Linked DNA regions of Homo sapiens: regions 2 and 3 are each linked to region 1. The links are contacts of gene promoters, found by promoter capture Hi-C in human tissues and cell types (Jung and others, 2019). All regions are on one chromosome and are shown on one strand. Each heading gives the region's core, a stretch centred on a gene start or on the middle of the fragment in contact. The rest is flanking DNA. Distances are from core to core; before and after follow the strand shown. Region 1 holds the start of POLDIP3 (DNA polymerase delta interacting protein 3). Region 2 holds the start of PACSIN2 (protein kinase C and casein kinase substrate in neurons 2). Region 3 overlaps NDUFA6-DT (NDUFA6 divergent transcript).

Evidence for each region. Contacts are between HindIII fragments. The study calls those that stand out against the background at their distance.
Region 2: the fragment with the promoter of PACSIN2 here is called in contact with the fragment with the promoter of POLDIP3 in region 1 in 1 of the 25 tissues and cell types used here (spleen).
Region 3: a fragment that was not itself captured here is called in contact with the fragment with the promoter of POLDIP3 in region 1 in 1 of the 25 tissues and cell types used here (dorsolateral prefrontal cortex).

The regions. Positions count from the first base shown.
Region 1 is chr22:42,612,625-42,617,263 of GRCh38, reverse strand. POLDIP3 (DNA polymerase delta interacting protein 3) reads left to right here and starts at 2,381. Exons shown (of 9, transcript NM_032311.5): 1 at 2,381-2,465. The coding sequence starts at 2,407. It overlaps RNU12 (RNA, U12 small nuclear), which reads right to left and starts at 2,020; the gene lies at 1,871-2,020. It overlaps LOC124905127 (a long non-coding RNA gene), which reads left to right and starts at 2,485. Exons shown (of 2, transcript XR_007068118.1): 1 at 2,485-4,639. RefSeq lists enhancers at 1,394-1,523, 2,174-2,233, 2,314-2,493, 1,986-2,529, 2,530-3,073 and 1 more and silencers at 1,964-2,023, 2,564-2,893. The HindIII fragment of the contact is 15,212 bases long and covers 1-4,639 here.
Region 2 is chr22:43,012,016-43,016,469 of GRCh38, reverse strand. It overlaps PACSIN2 (protein kinase C and casein kinase substrate in neurons 2), which reads left to right and starts at 1,321. Exons shown (of 11, transcript NM_001184970.3): 1 at 1,321-1,449. RefSeq lists enhancers at 834-1,033, 1,016-1,719 and silencers at 1,154-1,343, 1,354-1,403, 1,524-1,593. The HindIII fragment of the contact is 29,159 bases long and covers 1-4,454 here.
Region 3 is chr22:42,108,315-42,112,957 of GRCh38, reverse strand. All of the region lies in intron 3 of NDUFA6-DT (NDUFA6 divergent transcript), which reads right to left. It also overlaps the pseudogene OLA1P1. Among named protein-coding and RNA genes, the nearest start is that of NDUFA6-DT, 20 kb to the right of the region's middle. The HindIII fragment of the contact is 3,273 bases long and covers 325-3,597 here.

The DNA of each region.
Region 1 (4,639 bases), core at 1,132-3,631:
TCGCTCTGTCTCCCAGGCTGGAGTGCAGTGACATGATCTTGGCTCCCTGCAGCCTCTGCCTCCCAGGTTCAAGCGGTTCTATTGCCTCAGTCTCCGGAATACCTGGGGATTACAGGCGTGCACCACCACACCGGCTAATTTGTTTGTATTTTTAGTAGAGATGGGGTTTCACCATGTTGGTCAGACTGGTCTGAAACTCCTGACCTCAGGTGACCCACCCTCCTCGGCCTCCCAAAGTGCTGGGATCACAGGTGTGAGCCACCATGCCTGGCCAACACCTTTAAAATAACAGTTGTAACGGGCCCTTTACGCTGCAGAATTCACAGGCAGTATCACCTACCTATACGAAGAATTTTAAAAATCAACACAGCTCTAAATGAGTTGTAAAAGAACAAGAAAGGAGGCCGGGTGCTGTGTCTCATGCTTGTAATCCCAGCACTTTGGGAGGCCGAAGCAGGTGGATCACCTGAGGTCAGGAGTTCGAGACCAGCCTGGCCAACATTGTGAAACCCCCGTCTCTACTAAAAATACAAAAATTAGCCGGGCGTGGTGGCGTGCGCCTGTAATCCCAGCTACTCGGGTGGCTGAGACAGGAGAATCGCTTGAACCCGGGAGGCGGAGGCTGTGGTGAGCTGAGATTGTGCCACTGCACTCCAGCCTGGGCGACAGAGCGAGACACCGTCTCAAAAATAAAAATAAAATTGTCCTCCGCATCTGCCCTACACTGCCCAGCTGACCCCACTGGCCAGCCTGTCCTCCTCCCACCTCTTGCGCGTTCCTCCTGGCACGCCTGGAAGGGAGGAAAGGCTTAATGGTCCCGTTCTATGGGTGAGGAAAAGAGGTCTGGGAAGGAGCCCGGCGTGGTGGGGCGGGCCTGTAATCCCAGCTACTCAGGAGGCTGAGGCAGGAGGATTGCAGGATCGCTCTTACCCAGTTTCTTTCTTTCTTTCTTTTTTTTTTTTTTTTGAAACGGAGTCTTGCTCTGTCGCCTAGGCTGGAGTGCAATGGCGCGATCTCGGCTCACCGCAACCTCCGCCTCCCGAGTTCAAGCGATTCTTCTGCCTCAGGCTCCTGAGTAGGTGGGATTTCAGGCCGTGCCACCGCGCCCGGCTAATTTTTTTCTTTCTTTTTTTTTTTTTCAGTAGAGACGGGGTTTCTCCGTGTTGGCCAGGCTGGTCTCGACCTCCTGACTTCAGGTGATCCACCCGCCTCAGCCTCCCAAAGTGCTGAGATTACAGACATGAGCCACCGCTCCTGGCCTCTTACCCAGTTTCTGCACGGAGCTCCTGATGCCTGATGGCCAAGAGGACATAACCCCACCTGTTCTAAGGGCATGGAGTGTATTTTTAGAGTGATTGGACAAAATATGTGCCGAACACCTACGTCAGGTCTGGCGCATGCTGGAGGCTGGGGTTATATCAATGCAAAAGCCATTCCCTGTATTTAACACGTAAATGAATTAGTCTCTTTAACTCTCCCAACGCCCTATAAATTATTTGCTCCATTTTACATATTAAACGCTGTCACGAACTGAGCTGCTGTGTGAGGCCGGGGCCGGACTTATCTTTCTGAAGCACAGAGAAGCGGTTATACGCAGAAGTTTGGGAGAACTGGGTAAGGCCGCACACATGGAAATTGCCAGTTTCGTGGGTCCCAACGTCAATACTGTGGGCAACCTTAGACCGGCTCAAAGCGCAGCTGGGGACGGTGATGAAGTGCAGAGCGTCCACAGCCAGCGACAAGACTGCCAAGCAACTGGCAGCCTGAGTAACGGAGAAAACAACGAAAAAAACGCATTCACCACCTACCAACAAGAAACAAAAAACACGACCACCCCACAGTCAGTCTACTTTTTAGGCGTGAATAAGGTCGGGCAGATCGCAACTCCCAGGCATCCCGCAAAGTAGGCGGGTCACCTTGAGGGCGACCTTTACCCGCTCAAAAATTCGTCTCACATTAGCAGTGAGGATTCGGGCGTCACCCCGAATCGTTATTTTCCTTACTCATAAGTTTAAGGCATAAGGACGTTTTTAGTTTATTTCCTAGGTAATGAATTCTATTCTCATTAGGCGTATGATGACTATCGTAGTTGACTGTTGAGGTCATGATCCAGTTCCATTGAAGTTTGTCTCACTTGTTAATAATGTATTTTGTTGCTTTTCATTTAATTTTTTCCCTCGAGGAAAATAAATAATTCATAATGTGCCGAACTTCCGTATGCAGATGAGCAGCCAGCACCGCGAAGGCTCACGGGGAACGTCCCCGCCCCTTCCGGTTCTTGCCTGCTTTGAGCTGGCTGTCGCGAGAGTTGGTCCGCGGACGCCGGAAGTAGTTCGTCGCTCCCTAGCGGCCGAAGGGGCGGGCTCGCGGGGTCTCGACTGCTTTCGGCTTGCTCGGCGGAGCAAGATGGCGGACATCTCCCTGGACGAACTCATCAGGAAGCGCGGGGCGGCGGCGAAAGGACGGTGAGAGGCCTTTCCTTTCTTCGGGGTTTAGGGTCCTCGGCCTAGTGGAGCTCGAGGCGGGGGAGGTAGCGATCCGGGAGCGACGCGGAGGACCGGGTGCGCCCGCCCCCGACCACAGCCGCGCTCCTCATTGGCCGGCTGCCGCCGTCCCCGCCGTGGCCCCGACCGCCCGCCCACTGGCCGAGGCGCAGTCCCTCTGGCGGCCCTGGGAGGCCGACGGGGCCGCGGCGGGGACAGGGTGCCGCCTCGTGGACCTGAGGGGCTGCCCCCTGGGGCCCCCGCGTTCCGGGGTCCTGGGGTCTCGGCGGCGCAGCCTCCTTGCCTGTGTGGACTGGCATTTGGGCCCCGCTCCGTGATCTCGGCGCTGCCTGGTCTCCACCCATCTTAGAGTTGAGACAACCGAAGTTTAGTAGCGGGGAAGTGACTTGCTCCGACCGCCGAAGCTGAGGCGCAAGCCCAAATCCCCCTGCACGCGGCCCCTGTTAACACTCGCCTCTCTTTGTGCGGCGTTTTAAGTTTTCTGAGCCCTTTCATATACACGATGCCTCATTTAATCTTTTACAGTCCTGTTGTCTGCTAGCTATTCATGTTACCCACCTTTTACTGATGGGGAACTTGAGGCTGGAAGTGGTAGAGTGACTTGCCCGAGGCCACGGAGAACTGAGCGGCGGGCTGAGCGCGATTTAATTGCTGGCTGAGTTGGCCTCCTACATGGGCTTGAAAAACTGGTGTGTTGGGCAGGAGATTGGTTATTTCCTTAGGGAGAAGAAAGTGCTTGAGCTGGCTGAGGAGCCATGGAGGTGATTTGCAGTCATGTCTCCCAAACTTCCCCTAGACCCTTAAATGTTGTTAGTCATTTCAAGCCTTCGTGAGCTGAGTTCATCTGTATGAAGAAGTGAGAACTTTGCCCAATAGTTTCCCAACACACATTAAGTTTAAATGTCTTTGTAAATAGCCAGGATGTAAATATGTTAGATATTGTTTTCTCAGACATTTGTTCTCTCAGCAGATGTTTATTTTTATTTTTATGTTTTTTTTGAGACGGGGTGTTGCTCTGTCGCCCAGGCTGGAGTGCAGTGGTGCCATCTCGGCTCACTGCAACCTCCGCCTCCCCGGTTCCAGCGATTCTCCTGCCTCAGCCTCCCAAGTAGCAGGGACTACAGGTGTGCACCACCACGCCCGGCTAATTTTTGTATTTTTAGTAGAGATGGAAGTTTCACTGTGTTGGTCAGGCTGGTTTCGAACTCCTGACCTCAGGTGATCCTCCCGCCTCGGCCTCCTAAAGTGCTGGGATTACAGGCGTGAGCCACCGGCCCGGCCATTCCGCAGATGTTTATTAATACCACCCGTATGCCTGTGGTTAGGTTTTTCTCTTGATGTCTGAAATGTATCCCTCACCTCCTTCCCCATCCTGGACACTTGTATCAACTACAACTGCCACCACCACCTCATAATTCGCAGCCAGCACTTACCTGGCTTGTGGTTCGTAACGGGCACACATTAGTATTTGTTTCCTCAACTACTGACTGTGAAAGCTCTCTCAGATCTCCATCTAGTGACTGATGTGAAGCTGGTGCTGGCTCCTCTGGCCACTTCTAAGTCCATCCACGTTTTGTAGGTTCCTTTGGAAACGACAGAATGATCCACCCCAGGTTCTTCTCTCTCTGAGGTCACTCCGCCAGTTTCTGACTGCAGGTGGACTGCACTGTAGTCTATTTGATCTCTATGTTTTTGGTTTTAGTGTGTGCAGAGTTTTGTGTTGGGCAGTAGGTGGGGCTGCAGGAATGGGGGGTGGTTATGTGTGGATCCACAGGAACAGGGGCCTTGCAGCTGGATACACCTGGCACTTGCCACTGTTGGGTTCTGTTTCCCTGGCCAGGGGAGTTCTGAACTAGGCAGTTTCCTCACTTGGAATGGTGATTCCTGGTTGAGCGGGATTAAATGTGAGAAGGGTTTTTTTTGTTTGTTTTTTTGAGAGGGAGTCTCACTGTATTGCTCAGGCTGGAGTGCAGTGGCACAGCCTTGGCACACTGCAACCTCTGCCTCTTGGGTTTAAGTGATTCTCCTGTCTCAGCCTCCCAAGTAGCTGGGATTACAGGTGCCCGACACCACGACTGTCTAATTTTTGTATTTTTAGTAGAGATGGGGTTTTACCATGTTGGCCAGGCTGGTCT
Region 2 (4,454 bases), core at 72-2,571, 400 kb before region 1:
TCACTGTGTTGGCCAGGCTGGTCTCAAACTCCTGACCTTGTGATCTGCCCGCCTCGGCCTCCCAGAGTACTGGGATTCCAGGCGTGAGCCACCGTGCCTAGCCGGTTCTTTTGTTTCTTTCTCAATTATTGTCATAAGGACAATGCCACAGAGCAGTCTAGAAAGTAAACAACCACTAGATTTCTTTGTGGACTCTTTTCTCATACCTATCTATATGTAGCAGCAATTCTACAGTTTCTACCATTTTGTATCTAGCTTTTTCTTTTATTATTATTTTCTTTTATTTTACTTTTTAGAGAACTGGGTCTTGCTATGTGGCCCAGGTTGGCCTCAAACTCCTGGGCTGAAGCGATTCTCCTGCCTCGGCGTCCCAAGAAGCTGGGATTCCAGGTGCATGTCACCATGCCTGGCTCTATCTGGCTTTTTCTTTTAACGTTTTAGTTTAAGCATTTTCCCATAGTGCTACACAGTCATCATTATTATTCTCAAGGGTTGGGCTGACCTGGGTTTCTAATCCTGGCTCTGCCATTTACTCTCTTTACTCCACATCACCCCCAGCAAGTTACCTGGCTCACCCCTCACCTGGGGTTCCTCTCACCATCCTCTCCACCTGGATGACATGAAGCAGTGCTTGGACAGCGCGTAGGACAGTGCTCAGGAAGTGCTCTCCATTTTCCTTCAAGAGTATTTCCCTCTGCAGAACGGGGCTAATACCCTATCATGCAAGGTGATTGTGAGAATTGGAAAGAATGCGTGTGCATTGCCTGGTGCCTTGCCATCCAAATATATTTTATTAGAGAGAGCAGCAACATACGCCCCCCCAACCCCCCGTTTAAACTAAGCGGGTCCACGTGGAATGACGCTTTTGGCGCAAGTCGGAGGAGCTCCTAACGACATTAGCTTCTTTGAGTCCCTTGGGAGAGGAAACTTTCTGAAAGACTGTAGGATTACCTTCCCTGAACTTCCGGTCAGGTGCGGTGCTGCCCTGCCGCGCCCTCTTACCCCTGGATGCCGACGAAACCGCAAAACTCCAGCCCCGGGAAGCGCGTCTCAAGGACCACCACCAGCGAGCGGCTTTGGGAGAGTAATCTGCGCCACCCTCGCAGCCCATTAAATAGGCACTCCCCGTTTGATTGACAGGAGAAGTCACCAATGCGCGTCCTGGGGCTTTCCCTCGTCCTCACGCGGGGTGAGCCGCCTCTCTACTCATCTGGCCCAATCGGGGGCGCCGGGGAGGCTGTGGGGCGGGGCTCGGTGTCCGGTAGCCAATGGACAGAGCCCAGCGGGAGCGGCGGGGGCGGTGCGGTCGCGGCTGGCGGCAGAAGCGGCCGCAGGGGTCTGGGCAGGGCTGGGCAGTGCTGCCGGAGCAAAAGCGGTAGCGGGAGCCCGGCCGGAGCTGGGTCTGGAGACGCCGTGGCAGCCTGAACGGAGTGTGCGACGGATTGGGAGGTGAGTGGCCGCCGAGGTCAGGGGTCGCCGCGACGGTTGGGGCGCCGCGGGCGGGACGCGGGGGCGCTGGTCCGCGGCCGGGCCCGCGCCCCGTCAGGGCCGCCGCGCCGAGCTCCGCGCCCTGAGGGAAGCGGGTCGGGCCGCGCGGAACTTCCTGTCTCTGTGGGAGGGGGCGAGTGCTCGGGGCCCCGGGGGGCGCCTGGAGAAGACATCTTGGGGAGGACGAGGGCGAGTGGGGTCGGCTCGGGGAAGGGGCGGGGGCCCATGGGGGCGGCGCTGTGGGAGCGGGGCAGTTTTCCGGGGTCCGGGGCCTGCTGGAGAGGGAAGTGCAGGAGCAGGGCCGTCGGGGGTTAAGAGCTGCTAATGAGTGGGGGAGGTGTAGACAGCTGCAGAAGGGGGAGCTGGGGCGACTTTTGGAGGGACGCGATTTAGGAGAAAGCTGGGAATCCGAGACGTGCAGAGGTTAGGCGAGGGTGCCGGAGCAACGCTGGAGGGAAGGCGTGGCTGGGACGCGCCGGTGAGAGGGCAGGGCTTAGTCCTGGGGTGGCCTGGGGGGCGACGCAGGACACACGCGGGTGCGCTGATTTCGGGCGCTTTGATGAGCGGCCTCCATTTCCTTCCTTCCCACCCTCCGTGTCCCGGGGGGGGGGGGGTGGTGTGTGTGTGTCTGTGTGTGTGTGTGTGTGTGTGTGTGTGTGTAGGGCGGGGGGAGCAAAGCCCTTACCGCAGCACGTCCTAGGGCTGGGGCCAAGCAGGAGAGGCCGGGGAGGTTTGCCCTTGTGACCCTCCTCAGAGTTTCCCCAGACTCACTGAATCAGAAATCCGAACTCCTTACTCCTCTAGGGCTTTCAAGCCTGGCCAGGCATCCTGAGAGGTCCGCAATTGGAGAGGTAGTGATTGCTGCTGCTGTTGAATTTCATTGATTCATTGGGTTTCGGCTCCATCAGAGAAGGTCGATTTTCTTTTCAGAAGGAGTTGGTTGGTCAGGGGAGCAAGCTGTGCTATTGCTTTGGGGCCCACACGGCTGCAGCCTTTGACGTATAACAGGACCTGGGGATGCCACTCTTGGCTTGGGTGCCTGAGGGAAGGTGGCCTTTGGCTGGGTGTGTGCACCATTCCTGGATCCTGTCTTCTCTTTTTCCCTCCGCCTGTCCGGTGTTTTTGTGGTTAAGGGGGTAGGCTGCTCAGAGTCTCCAGGGCTACTTGGTACACTGTTTACCAAATACTGCCTGGCTGTCTTGATGAAAATCAGGAAACCAGCTCAAAGAGTTTGAACCTCAGCTGCAGATGGTGAGCTCACACCTTCTTCCTTCCCTCCTTTTCGGTGCCTTCCTCTGCGGTTATTCCCGTGTGCTGAAGTTCTGTTTTAACCCTCCTGGGATTGCCAGGTTGGAGCCCAGGGCAAGGGAACCGACCAGGCAGGCAGTGTTGAATGCCAGCCCTCCTGTTCTTGCCCAAGATGTTGTCGTTCCACTTGATTCATGAGCCTGCCTGCATGCAGCCTCCTCATGGAGACATTGAAGCTGTGCCAGTGCAACTTGGATCTCTCTTGATTCACCTGGAAAACTTTCACTTGTGTGGACTTAAACTTAATTCTAGAGTTTGGTAGCCTCTTTGGTGAGGTTATGCTGGTTGAGATATGAGGCCACTACATCAAAAACATTGGTGTGTTTTTCTTTTGACAATAGACTTAAAGCTTTAAAGAAAGTGGCCATTAGGCTGGTGATATTTATTACTTGGGAAAGTAACATAACACAGAGAAGTAGATGGGTGATTAGGTCTGCACTCTTTATCCACTTTTTGGGAGAAGAATAACAACTCATTTGAATGGAAATGGTATCCTTAGCTCGTGCTGCTTTGGGACTTGGAACTTTATCACTTTTAATCTCAAATGTATATGAAGTTGTGATGTGATATTTAAATAATCTAGGCTGGGCGGGGTGGCTCACGCCTGGGATCCCAGCACTTGGGAAGGCCGAGGCGGGCAGATCACCTGAGGTCAGAACTTAGAGACCAGCCTGGCTAACATGGTGAAACCCCGTCTCTACTAAAGATACAAAAATTAAGGCCGGGCGTGGTGGCTCACGCCTGTAATCTCCAGCACTTTGGGAGGCAGAGGCGGGCGGATCACCAGAGGTCGGGAGTTCGAGACCAGCTTGACCAACATGGAGAAACCCCATGTCTACTAAAAATACAAAATTAGCTGGGTGTGGTGGTGCTCATACCTGTAATCCCAGCTACTTGGGAGGCTGAGGAAGGAGAATTGCTTGAACCCAGGAGGCGGAGGTTGCGGTGAGCCAAGATCCGGCCGTTGCACTCCAGCCTAGGCAACAAGAGCAAAACTCCTGTTTCAAAAAAAAAAAAAAATTAGTCTGGCGTAGTGGTGCACACGTGTAATCTCAGCCTCAGCTACTTGGGAGGCTGTGGCATGATAATTGCTTGAACCTGGGAGATGGAAGTTGCAGTGCACTGAGATCACACCACTGCACTCTAGCCTGGGTGACAGAGTGAGACTCTGTTTAAAAATAAATAAATCTAAAAGTATGCATATATTTAAAAAAAATTCTGGATTTCCACCAACATAGCATTCTGCAGGGAGATAACATGAACTTTTCCCTAATCCTGGATACCCATCCACATCTCTGATGGCCAGGCATTTCTGGAGTGGGAGCAGAGGGGCATTTGTCCTTGCTTTTTTTTTTTTTTTTTTTTTGAGAGAGAGTCTCTGCCCAGGTTCAAATGATTCCTCTGCCTCAGCCTCCTCAGTAGTTGGGATTACAGGCGCCTGCCACCTTGCCTGGCTAGTTTTTGTATGTTTGTATGTATGTATGTATGTATGTATGTATGTATGTATGTATGTATGTATTTATTTATTTTGAGACAGAGTCTCGCTCTGTCGCCCGGGCTGGAGGCAGTGGTGCGATCTCAGCTCACTGTAACCTCTGCCTCCCAGGTTCAAGTGATTCCCCTGCCTCAGCCTCCTGAGTAACTGGGACTACAGGCAT
Region 3 (4,643 bases), core at 712-3,211, 500 kb after region 1:
TTCCAGGGGGCCAGAAACGATAGACGGTCCAGACCCTCATTTATGCTTCTAAACAAAGCTTCCAGGGGGCCAGAAACTATAAAAGGTCCAGACCCTCGTTTATGCTTCTAAACAAAGCTTCCAGGGGGCCAGAAACTATAAAAGGTCCAGACCCTCATTTATGCTTCTAAACAAAGCTTCCAGGGGGCCAGAAACTATAAAAGGTCCAGACCCTCGTTTATGCTTCTAAACAAAGCTTCCAGGGGGCCAGAAACTATAAAAGGTCCAGACCCTCGTTTATGCTTCTAAACAAAGCTTCCAGGGGGCCAGAAACTATAAAAGGTCCAGACCCTCGTTTATGCTTCTAAACAAAGCTTCCAGGGGGCCAGAAACTATAAACGGTCCGTCCAGACCGTTTGAAGGGCAGGCCACTTCAAAAGAGAATGTCCCAAACTGGAAAAGGAGAAAGAAGCCCTTCAACTCATGACTTTTGAGGAAGAACAGGGGGGTCAGGGGCTCTGTTTATCTCGAGTCCCACCAGGAGCCCTTGATAAATTTACAGGTGGGAACCAAACATGAGCTTATCACCTTTTAGTCAATTCAGGAGTGGCTCGCTCCTCCATTTGCTTCCCCCCATCCAACATTGCCTGCTCTTCAGAAGAACTTTTAGTCTCTGGGGTAAAAGGAGAAGGATTTAAAGCAAAAATCTTAGAAAGTACAGAAGTTAAATACCAAGATCGGCTGACTCATATCCAATTTTTGTTGATCCCTGAGGCAGAAACTAATCTATTAGGAAGAGACTTAATGCTAGAATTAGGCACAGGCTTACAAGTTGGTCCTAAAGGATTCTTTACCTCATTAAACCTACTCACCACCACAGATGAAAAATGCATTAATCCTAGTGTCTGGTCAAGGGAAGGAAACCGGGAGAAACTCTGAATCCCTCCAATCCACATCAAGTTAAGAATCCCCAGGGAAGTAGTAAGGAGGAAACAATACCCCAAACCCCTAGAGGGCAGGATAGGATTAAAGCCTATAATTGAAAGTCTTATTAAAGATGGGCTCCTTGAACCCTGTATGTCCCCGTATAACACTCCAATATTGCCAGTCAAGAAATTAGATGCGTCATACCGACTTGGTACAAGATCTTAGAGCCATCAAATAGTCCAAACTAACCATCCTGTTGTCCCCAACCCATACACCATTCTCAGCAAAATTCCAAAAAACCATCAGTTGTTTACAGTAATAGATTTAAAAGATGCCTTCTGGGCATGCCCCTTGGCTGAAGACAGCTGAGACATATTTGCTTTTGAGTGGTAGGATCCCCATTCAGGGCGAAAACAACATTATTGATGGACAGTTTTACCTCAAGGGTTTACAGACTCTCCAAACCTTTTTGGTCAAATTTTAGAACAAGTGTTAGAAAAAGTTGTCATCCCAAAGCAAATATGCCTGCTCCAGTACATGGATGATATTCTCGTATCTGTTGAAGATGTAGAGAAAGTAGCTGGCTTCTCTACACATATCCTTAACCATCTGGAGTTCGAGGGGTTATGGTTCTTAAAGGGAAAGCTTCAGTATGTGGAGCCTGAAGTTAAATATTTAGGCCACTTAATAAGTGCAGGTAAGCAAAGGATAGGACCTGAACGAGTTGAAGGCATCGTGTCCTTACCCTTGCCTCAAACTAAGCAATAACTCAGAAAATTTCTAGGATTAGTTGGATATTGATGCTTATGGATTGACTCATATGCCCTAAAAAGTAAACTTTTATATGAAAAGCTTACCCAGTGGAAACTGGACCGTCTCCTGTGGACTTCTGAGGAAGTCAATCAGGTTGAAGAGCTGAAATACAAACTCATAACTGCCCCTGTCTTAGCCTTAGCTTCCCTAGAAAAGCCATTTCATCTTTTTGTTAATGTAAATAACGGGGTAGCTTTAGGGGTTCTTACTCAAGAACATGGTGGTCACCGGCAGCCCGTAGCCTTCCTATCAAAAATTTTAGACCCAGTCACCTGTGGGTAGCCTCAGTGCATCCAATTCGTTGCAGCTACAGCAGTATTAGTTGAAGAAAGTAGAAAATTAATCTTTGGGGGGAAATTGACTGTAAGCACACCCCACCAAGTTAGAGCTATTTTAAATAAAAAAGCAGGAAGGTGGCTCACTGACTCCAGAATCTTAAAATAGGAGGCTATTTTACTAAAAAGATGATTTAACCTTGACTACTGATAACTCACTCAATCCGAGAGGTTTCTTAACAGGGGACCCAAATCTAAAAAGAGAACACTTATGTCTAGATCTAACTGACTACCAAACAAAGGTCAGGCCGGATCTAAGAGAGACCCCTTTCAAAATGGGGTGACACTTATTTATAGATGGTTGATCCCAAGCAATTAAAGGAGAAAAATACAATGGGTATTCAGTAATTGATGGAGAAACTCTTGAAGAAACAGAGTCAGGAAGGTTGCCCAATAGTTGGTCTGCCAAAGCATGTGAACTATTTGCACTCAGCCAGGTTTTAAAACACTTACAGAGCAAGGAAGGAACTATTCATACTGATTCTAAATACATTTTTGGAGTAGCTCATATATTTGGAAAAATTTGGGCTGAGCAAGGTCTTATTAATACTAAAGGCCAGGCCAGGCGCGGTGGCTCATGCCTGTAATCCCAGCACTTTGGGAGGCTGAGGTGGGCGGATCACGAGGTCAGGAGATCAAGACCATCCTGGCTAACATGGTGAAACCCCGTCTCTACTAAAAATACAAAAAAATTAGCCAGGTGTGGTAGCGGGATCCTGTAGTCCCAGCTACTCAGGAGGCTGAGGCAGGAGAATGGCGTGAACCCGGGAGGTGGAACTTGCAATGAGCTGAGATCGTGCCACTGCACTCCAGCCTGGGTGACAGAGCAAGACTCCGTCTCAAAAAAACACCAAAAAACAAAAAAAAACTAAAGGCCAAAATATCTTACCCACGAGGAGCTAATCGTCCATGTTTTAAACAATCTCCAGTTGCCAGAAGAAATAGCCATTGTACATGTCCCCGGACACCAAAACGACTTTTCCTTTACAAGTCAGGGAAATAACCTTGCAGATCAAGTGGCTAAACAGGCTGCCATTTCATCTGAAACACCTTTCACTTAACCCCTCGTCTTCCTCCCCCTGCTGCAACCCCTACCTTGTCTGCTGCAGAAAAGGAAAAATTAATAAAAATGGAGCCAAAGAAAACTCAGAAGGAAAATGGGTGTTACCAGATCAAAGAGAAATGCTATTCAAACCGCTCATGAGAGAAATCCTACCCACCTGCATCAAGGGACACACTGGGGACCCCAAGCCATGTGTGACACAGTTCTCAGGGTTTATGGGTATATACCCTAGCCAAACAGGTTATGGATAGTTGCTTAACATGTAAGGAAACCAACAAACAAGTTATAAAGAAATCATCCCTGGGCGGGGAGGGATTCAGGGCTAAGACCATTCCAAAGTGTTCAAACTGATTACATTGAAATGCCCCCAATCGGTTGCCTAAAGTACTTAGTAATAGCAGATCACCTCACTCACTGGGTCGAAGCTATTCCCTTTTCAAATGCAATGGCCAATCATGTAGTTAAAGCATTAATTGAAAATATAGTGCCCAGGTTTGGGCTAATAGAAAATATTGACTCAGACAGTGAAACCTATTTCATAGCACATATCATTAAAAAGCTATCCTAAGCGCTAGACATTAGATGGAAATATCATACTCCTTGGCACCCACCTTCATCAGGGAGAGTAGAAAGGATGAATCAGACCTTAAAGAACCATTTAACCAAGTTAGTTCTATAGATTCGGTTGCCAGGGATCAAATATCTTCCTATTGCCCTGTTAAGAATCCAAACGGCGGTTCCACCGCTGTCGCCGCCGTAGTGCGGCATGCCGCTCGGCGGAGGGGCCGGGCCTGCGTTCTCTCCTCCTTCCTCCCCGCCTCTGGCTGCCGGCAGGACCTTTCTCTCGCTGCTACTGGGACCCCGTGTCATAGCCCAGGCTGAGCACGATGCCCCCTCAAAAGGGAGGTGATGGAATTAAACCACCCCCAATCATTGGAAGATTTGGAACCTCACTGAAAATTGGTATTGTTGGATTGCCAAATGTTGGGAAATCTACTTTCTTCAATGTATTAACCAATAGTCAGGCTTCAGCAGAAAACTTCCCATTCTGCACTATTGATCCTAATGAGAGCAGAGTACCTGTGCCAGATGAAAGGTTTGACTTTCTTTGCCAATATCACAAACCAGCAAGCAAAATTCCTGCCTTTCTAAATGTAGTGGATATTGCTGGCCTTGTGAAAGGAGCTCACAATGGGCAGGGCCTGGGGAATGCTTTTTTATCTCATTTTAGTGCTTGTGATGGCATCTTTCATCTAACACGTGCTTTTGAAGATGATGATATCACACATGTTGAAGAAAGTGTAGATCCTATTCGAGATATAGAAATAATACATGAAGAGCTTCAGCTTAAAGATGAGGAATGACTGGGCCCATTATAGATAAACTAGAAAAGGTGGCTGTGAGAGGAGGAGATAAAAAACTAAAACCCAAATATGATATAATGTGCAAAGTAAAATCCTGGGTTATAGATCAAAAGAACCTGTTCGCTTCTATCATGATTGGAATGACAAAGAGATTGAAGTGTT